2 separate regions of the Homo sapiens genome follow, and region 1 is linked to region 2. The links are contacts of gene promoters, found by promoter capture Hi-C in human tissues and cell types (Jung and others, 2019). All regions are on one chromosome and are shown on one strand. Each heading gives the region's core, a stretch centred on a gene start or on the middle of the fragment in contact. The rest is flanking DNA. Distances are from core to core; before and after follow the strand shown.

Region 1 (2,700 bases), core at 42-2,541, 490 kb before region 2:
TTCCGATTGGGTCACTCTTGGTTGCTTCTGGTTCGTAGTAGGGGTTAGTGGTAAGTGCGCAAATACTGAATTGCAGTCTACTTAAATATTTGTTTGCTCTGTGTAATTGCTCTTTCCTGTAGTAGCATTAAAATCGTCAAAAGTTCTGAGTGGAGTAAACGATCACACTTTTTGGAATGCACTTAACGAAGCGGCAGAAGAGGAACTAGATTCCTTTTTTACTTCAAGCCATGAGCTTCTAGGACCTAAGCATAGCTTAACGCCTCGCAGAAGTGTGTGCAGTTTTAAGTTTAACACTTCATTTCATGGTGCACCCGAAAATGTACCCGATTTTCTGAAATCCTGGAGAGTGTATTACGTAGTAAAATATGTAATGATGTTTAAAATGTAAAACCAGTCATTCTGTTTGAAAAAGATATTTGGAGATGAGATTTTTCTTTGTTTAAAGAAGGTTTGTTTTTGGATATTGAAAAATGTTTTACTTGAAGGTTCTATTTGTTGTTTTCCATGGTGAGTCGAAATAGTTGCGTTACATTTCAAATTCCAAAGCATGCAAACACAAGACTGGCTCGCTTTAACTCTATTAATGCCCATTTTTGGAGGTTTCAGGAGAGTGTTCCTTAAGCTTGAGAGGGATGGCTGAATTGCTTTCTAAATATGTTAAACTTTTTTTCTCATTGGCTTCATCTTTTAAAAACGATTTTGTCAAAAAACAAACCAAATTTAGATATGCTAGGGTTTTTCACCAATTTATAAAAGCCTCCCTCCCTGAGAGCCACATGCTCAGGTCCTTATAGCCAGCCCCACCCCCCACTCCTAATGTGTGTACCACATCAGAAGACAGACACGCATGCCTGAGCTGATTCTGCATGGTTTCCTTAGATATTACAGTTCATTAGACTCTTGCCACTTACTGAATATTATCTTCTAGCTGTAATTAACTACATGACAGCCTTATTTCCCATACATTTCCGATTGTGAATTCCTCCAGCGCAGGAGATATTCCTTATTTGTTTTTGCGTCCCCAGAGTAACAGAACTTGGTTGTGGTGGTGCCTCAGTTGCTTTTTTTTAATGAATGAGTTTTCTGGAATAATTCTAACTTAAACTTAACGTTTGAAAACATGCGCTGATTTTTGGCTACAGAAAACACAGTCGTTGTGCTTAAGCCGGTTAAGAATTCAAGCTTTATTATACACTTCTCGAGTAAAATTGATCGTCTCTCTCATCCCTCCTTTTCTATTCCCCCTTCCCTCTTCACTTCCCTTCTCCCTGAAACACCCCAGTATCTAGTACAGGGCCCTAACAGAAAAATGCCCAGGTTTTCTATACCTATGGAAGTCTGGGAAAGTGCCAAGAAAACAGGTTGTGAAACTTTAACTTTTTTCCCCCTTAAAACTAGTTTTAAGGTGTGGATGTTTTTACTTTTTGTGTTTGGTGTTTTTTTGGAAACACGATCAGGTTTTTCCCCCCAGGTTGAGTATCCAGCCTTGCCTTTGCAATGAAGCAGTTTGGTAGTTAAGGCTCCTCCTTGTAGATGAGGCAAGCCCCATGGTTCTGCTGGAGTGGGATAGGAAGTTGCTGTAGGAGGAACCATCCCTTGGTCTCTGAGGGCCATTCATCAGAATGTCATTCCCAGTATACCCAGTGGTGTCTGTCTTTCAGCATGGAAAATTAAAATGAATGTACTTTAAATTGAGGAGTTGTTACTTGCCATTCTTCAAATTAAAAATATTAGGGCCTTAAAAACTTAGGAACTTGGTTTTTTGTTTGTTTTGCTGTTTCAGCCTTCCGTAGGTCCTAAAGCCAGTGACCTTGAGTCATTCTGGAATAAAATGTCTTTGGGGGACTGTCAGCTTCATTTTGAACTTGTCTTTTAGGTATGTCTGGAGAAAAGAGTGTTAACCATTTTAAGGGCCAATTCTAAGGTTGCCTTGCTTTTTAAAAACATTTGGTAGTTTATCAGTGTGTTTGTTTTGCTTCCAAATGAAGAAATGAGCATTAAATGAAAAATAGATCCTATTTGGATAAAAGCCTTATGTTTACTACTGAGGACATAATTTCCTGTTTATAGGAGGTTTCCTGTTTATAATATGAAGATTTAGTAAACACACTATAAACAGAATTATTATAACATTTAATGACTTAAGTTTTTTATTCACTCATGGAGGTGTTTCATTTCTAAAAATTCCGTGAGGGAGAGAGATTGAAGTCATTTATTTTTGCTTAGGTATAGAACATCTTGCTTGGGAGAGAAGACATGGAGTCTAGTTCAAGCTTACCTTTGCAGGGCATATATTTCCTCGTTTTTAAAATGAGATGGTTTTTAATTGACACTGTTGATTTCCTTAGGCCCCGAAAGTATGTGGATTCCATGGGAATGCCACAGCTTTTAACATTAACAGGATTTTGGAAAAACGGTCTTAAAGAACATTAAGTATTGTATTCATGTTTAAAAAGCAGGGTTGTGAAGCCTAAGTTTGATAGTTAAATTTTTTCCCTTGGGAAACTTGGACCAAGTAAGCACTGGTCTGCCTTTCCTAGTGTTGACTCCATGCTTCAGCGCTATTGCAGTTCCATTCTGGATCTGACTCTTTGCCTTTTCTATCACCTGACGGCTCACACATCACCATCTCTGGAAAGCTGGCCCTGATGTCCTGGTCTGGGTTAGGAGCCTTCTCTGGGTTCCCATGTTGTCCTG
Region 2 (5,616 bases), core at 2,232-4,731:
CGGCCTTTTATGGCCTGTGGTTGCTAGGCTTGGTGGTTATAAAATAATGTTAGTGGCCAGGTGCGGTGGCTCATGCTTGTAATCCCAGCACTTGGGGAGGCCAAGGCGGGTGGATCATGTGAGGTCAAGAGTTTGAGACCAGCCTGGCCAACATGGTGAAACCCCACCTCTACTAAAAATACAAAAATTAGCTGGGCATGGTGGCAAGCGCCTGTAATCCCAGCTACTCGGGAGGCTGAGGCAGGAGAATTGTTTGAACTTGGGAGACGGAGGTTGCAGTGAGCCGAGATTGAGCCACTGCATTCCATCCTGGGTGACAGAGTGAGACTCTGTCTCAAAAATAAATAAAATAAAATATTGCAAGTACAATGAAGCCTGTGCATTTAAATTGTTTGAGTTGAGTAGCTTTGCTCATATATCTCTTTTTTTTTTTTTTTGAGACCGAGTCTTGCTCTGTCGCCAGGCTGGAGTACAGTGGAAGGATCTCGGTTCACTGCAACTTCCACCTCCTGGGCTCAAGCGACTCTTCTGCCTCAGCCTCCAGAGTAGCTGGGACTACAGGCGCACACCACCATGCCTGGCTAAGTTTTGTATTTTTAGTAGAGATGGGGTTTCACCATATTGGCCAGGCTGGTCTCAAACTCTTGACCTCATGATTTGCCCGCCTCGGCTTCCCAAAGTACTGGGATCATCTTAACAATGAATGGGACCTCTAGCTCTGAGCAACTACTCTGGTCACAAAGGGTGATAGTGTTGATGGCTGCATGAAAATCCACCCGCTGTGAAGGAGAAATGTGAAGTAGACACACTACAGCGATGTCTTACTATGTAACAAAGGACATCGTTATAACTAGTTAAGTGCTTAGGAAGGGAAGTCATTTTAAAGGCTTTATACAGAAAAGATAGCATAAATGTTTGGGACTAACCTAGTCCTTCCTTTATCACCTCTAGGAAAGAGAAAAGATAGTTGATAATCTACAGTGCAGAAGACGTGTTCTGAAATGTGGCTCGCTGGTGGAAATGAATTTGCCTAGAGCTTTTCAGACTTAACTTGCCTGGTTCCTCTAATAAAAGTGGACGTGATGTTTACAATCAGGGCCAGGAAGCAGGGAAGGAAATCACTGACTTCTGGGAGCATGGACTTTACTGGCCTATAAGCTCCTTGAGGATAATCTTAAGTCTGTGAATACTCATTTCTGTATCCTAGAAGTGTGCCTAGCAGAGAAAGTACTTGGTAACTGTTCTTCTGAATATGGCCTTCTAAGCACATGTCTCACGTAGGCCAATAATGTCCTTTATTTTATGAAGTGCAGTGGAACTTAAAGGTACTAGCAGGTCTGCTTCCACACAAGGTGATGAGCCTCAGAGATCTCTTCCTTAACAAGACAGGGACTGGTCCTTTAGGAAAACAAAGTAAATACTATTTTGAGAATAATTACAAAAACACCTTTTGGGGGTAACTATCTTTGCAGAATGCTCGCTATGTGCCAGGCACAATTCTCATTTAATTTTACAACATTAAAATAGAGTTGCCATTATTTTCTTCATTTATATATGAAGAGAATGAGGCTCAGAGAAGTTAAATAAGTTGCTCAAAGTCATAGCTAGTGAGTGGTGATTTTGGGATTTAAACTCAGGTGTATGCAACTGCAAAGCTCACCCTCTTCCTAAACAGTACCTGGCACACAGTAGGTGTTCAATAAATACATTTGGAATGACTGAATTTTCCCCTCCTCCATCTTCATCAGCTTATACTGGCCTCTCCCTGGCTCCTCCTCTGACCTGGCCTGATGTTTCAAAGTGACACTGACCTGCCTTTAAAGGGTTTTATTTGTAGAGAAGGGATCTCGCTGTGTCACCCAGGCTGGTCTTGAACTCCTGGCCTCAGCCTTGGCCTCCAAAGTGTTGGGATTACAGGTGTGAGCCACCATGACTGCCCGATTTAAAGGTTTATTTATTTATTTATTTGACACAGGATCTTTGCTATGCCGCCCAAGCTGGAGCACAACGGCACAATCACAGCTCACTGCAACCTCCAACTCCTGAGTTCAAGCAATCCTACAGCCTTAGCCTCCTGAGTAACTAGGAGTACAGGCATTAGCCATCATGCCCGGGTAATTTTTATTTTTTATTTTATTATTATTATTATTATTTTTTTTTGAGACGGAGTCTTGCTCTGTTGCCCAGGCTAGAGTGCAGTGGCGCGATCTCGGCTCACTGCAAGCTCCGCCTCCCGGGTTCACGCCATTCTCCTGCCTCAGCCTCCCGAGTAGCTGGGACTACAGGCGCCGCCACCACACCCGGCTAATTTTTTTGTATTTTTAGTAGAGACGGGGTTTCACCGTGTTAGCCAGGATGGTCTCGATCTCCTGACCTCGTGATCCGCCCGTCTTGGCCTCCCAAAGTGCTGGGATTACAGGCGTGAGCCACGGCGCCCGGCCTTATTATTATTTTTTGAGATGGAGTCTCGCTCTGTTGCCCAGGCTGGAGCGCACTGGCGCGATCTTGGCTCACTGCAACCTCCGCTTCGGAGGTTGAAGCGATTCTCCTGCCTCAGCCTCCCGAGTAGCTAGGATTATAGGCCCACGCCACCACGCCCGGCTAATCTTTTTGTATTTTTAGTAGAGACGGGGTTTCACCATGTTGGCCAGGCTGGTCTCGAACTCCTGACCTCAGGTGATCCGCCTGCCTCAGCCTCCCAATGTGCTGGGATTACAGATGTGAGCCACCGCGCTCGGCTAATTTTTATTTTTTATAGGGATGGGGTGTCAATATGTTGCTCAGTCTGGTCTCGAACTCCTGGGCTCAAGTCGTTCTCCTGCTTCAGCCTCTCAGAGTGCTGAGATTACAGGTGTGAGGCACCACGCCCAACCCAATTTCAAGGTGTTTGAAGAGGCCACTGTTAAAATGCACTGCACCTTACCTGGGAGAAAGAGCTCAGCCCTCTTTTGACACCTTAACATGAATCACTTCTCTATCATCCATAACAGTGCAAAAGCTCTGGGATGGGTCCAGGTAAATCTGGATTGGGAAGAAGGGGAGTGGGAGGTAAAGTCTGCAAAGGAGTGAGGGAAGGCAGAAGGCCAGAAGAAAGTGTCTGAAGACAGAATTACTCCTGCAAAATTTTCACAAGGGTCAGGCACTATTTTCTCCCGGGATGCCCAATACATTTGCAGAATTAACAGTAATCAAGCCCACAGTCCAGGTCCTCGCATAGTTTGGGCCTTTAAAGTCGGCCATCCCAGATTGAGGGGGCCTGACCCCTGGGCGAGGCCGCCGCCTCTCAGTTTTGGGGCGGTGGCGACCCCAGTCCGGGAGTGGCCCCGGTAGGTCCCCGCAGGCGGGCAGGAGCTCCGAGGCCATTGGCTGGCGCGCGGGCTGCCAAGGGGCGGGGAGCGCCGCCGAAGGGGACTGTTTGCTCCTACGGGCTGTAGATGGAGCTGTCCGGCCCCGGAGAGGGGGAAGGCGCCTGGAAAACGTTCTTCTTCTCCCTGGCCGACCCGAGCGGGGAACAGCACTCCCAGGATGCAGTTTGTGTCAACACGGCCGCAGCCTCAGCAGCTGGGCATCCAGGGCCTGGGGCTGGACAGCGGGAGCTGGAGCTGGGCCCAGGCTCTGCCCCCGGAGGAGGTCTGCCACCAGGAGCCGGCGCTGCGCGGGGAAATGGCCGAGGGAATGCCGCCCATGCAGGTGGGAGAACCCCGCCGGCGCCATGGCCGCGCTGCCGTGGGGGCGGGGCGCGGGCTGGGCCGCGGGACCGGGCCGCGCCGTCCTCCGGTAGCCTTGCGGCGCCCTCCCAGCTTCCGCGCCCAGGCGAGGCCCGAGGCGGGCGGGGCACGGCCGGGCTGCGCGGCGGGCAGGACGGAGCGGGCCCGACGCAGGCCCGGAAGGGCAGGCCTGGCCCGCGCGGCGCGGAGCAGCGGTCGCCGGGCCCAAGTGCGGAGGCCCCGCGGGGCGGGGGCCGGGACCGTCCTTTCCGGGACCTGGCAGAGCTCTGACCCTGTGGCTGAGCCCCGGCTTGGGGCTCCCTTTGCGCCCGGCCGGCGGAGAGCTTCGCGGGCAGTGCTTCCGCCCGGCCGCAGAAGTGAATGCCTCGTTCGTGTTTACACGGTGGCCAATTTGACGGGGATATTTTTTAAATGTTTGATTACCACCTTTCACCAAGTGTAATGAGTAATTCACTCTCCCCCTGCACCGGGTGTGATCCAGGGAGGGGGCCATGGAGAGATGACTTCGGGGTCTTTCCTGCGGTTGACAAACTTGGCCGCATGTTGGAATGGCCTGGGCAGCTTTTAAGACTCCTGAGCCCTTGCCTGGTCCCAGAGCTCAGGGTCTCTGACGGGTGAGAGTAGCACCAGGCATTTCTTCAGGCTCCATCGATGATCTCCGTGGGCAGAACCGGTGCTCCAGAATTGGGTATAAAACCAGGGGAGGTGGATCCTCAGAGAGGCCTGAAAGCTTGCCCAGGGAAGACTCTCTGGGCCCACCCTGGGGCTGGGCTGCTCAGGGGCCCCTCTGCTCACCACGCGGCTCTCAGCCAGGTGCTAACGAGGGAGCCAGGGGCTGCTGTGTTGTGTTTGATCATTTTCAGGGTTAGGGCTTCAAACCCGAGAAAACTAAACTGGGCCCCGGGACTTTCTTAACTTCTACTGTGGACTCTGTCCCCTTCTGTGGGCTAGGGCGGAGTGGAGCCTCTGTGATGGAGGAATGGGTGCTTTTGATGGAAACACCAGCACCTCTTACTGGTATTACAGGGCCTGGCGATCCTAGGGCCCTGCTCTCCACTCTGCTGTGTCCCGGAGCAGGTCTGCCCCGGAGCAGGGCTGCTCTTGAGTCAGAGAGTGGGGCTGGTCTGCCCAGATCGCCCCAAGCAGCAGGCCTCCCCTTTTCCTAGCCTGAGGGCCTTTTCTGCAGCCATCGGGAGGACAGAAAATGACACCTCTTCCTGTCCCAGGTGTGAAGGAGAGTCGGCTGCCAGCCCATGTGGTCCAGTGAGCCCTGAGTCTGACACCAGGTCCCAGATGACCAGTGAACTGTCACCAGCCTCAACCAGCCCCCCTTAGCCATAGGTCTCAGCTCTCAATTGCACCAATTAGTTTACCCTTCTGGGGTGAGGGCTCTGTGCTGGAAGATAAAAGGGGGAGTCCCCAGGCCATGGGGCACCCCTTCCCCAGGAAGCAAGGAGGGGTCCCAGAGGAGTTTTTCTTTCTCTTGGTCCTCTTGGGTGTGAGGGACATCCCCTCTTCACCTCTAATGAGTGACCTTTTTTAGTGAACCTATTTTCAATTTGGAAAATGTTTATGAAACAGTAGTTGTATATGGGGGGAAGCTGCTTTTCTGCCCTAGCTTGGGCTCTCCGGTCTTTTCCTTGACTGCAGCCCTGGTAGGAATGTGGTGGGTTTTTTTGTTGTTTATTTGTTTGTTCCGAGACGGAGTCTTGCTCTGTTGCCCAGGCTGGAGTGCAGTGGCACCATCTCGGCTCACTGCAACCTCCGCTTCCCAGGTTCAAGCGATTCTCCTGCCTCAGCCTCCCAAGTAGCTGGGATTACAGGAGCCCACCACCACACCCGGCTAATTTTTGTGTTTTTAGTAGAGACAGGGTTTCGCCATGTTGGC

What was found. Contacts are between HindIII fragments. The study calls those that stand out against the background at their distance.
Region 1: a fragment that was not itself captured here is called in contact with the fragment with the promoter of ZNF282 in region 2 in 1 of the 25 tissues and cell types used here (aorta).

What each region holds. Positions count from the first base shown.
Region 1 is chr7:148,700,081-148,702,780 of GRCh38, forward strand. The region is part of intron 1 of CUL1 (cullin 1); the gene reads left to right. Among named protein-coding and RNA genes, the nearest start is that of CUL1, 2.5 kb to the left of the region's middle. The HindIII fragment of the contact is 3,491 bases long and covers 1-2,700 here.
Region 2 is chr7:149,192,065-149,197,680 of GRCh38, forward strand. It overlaps ZNF282 (zinc finger protein 282), which reads left to right and starts at 3,482. Exons shown (of 8, transcript NM_003575.4): 1 at 3,482-3,690. The coding sequence starts at 3,526. RefSeq lists silencers at 3,150-3,439, 3,258-3,579, 3,700-4,059 and an enhancer at 4,500-4,549. The HindIII fragment of the contact is 19,438 bases long and covers 1-5,616 here.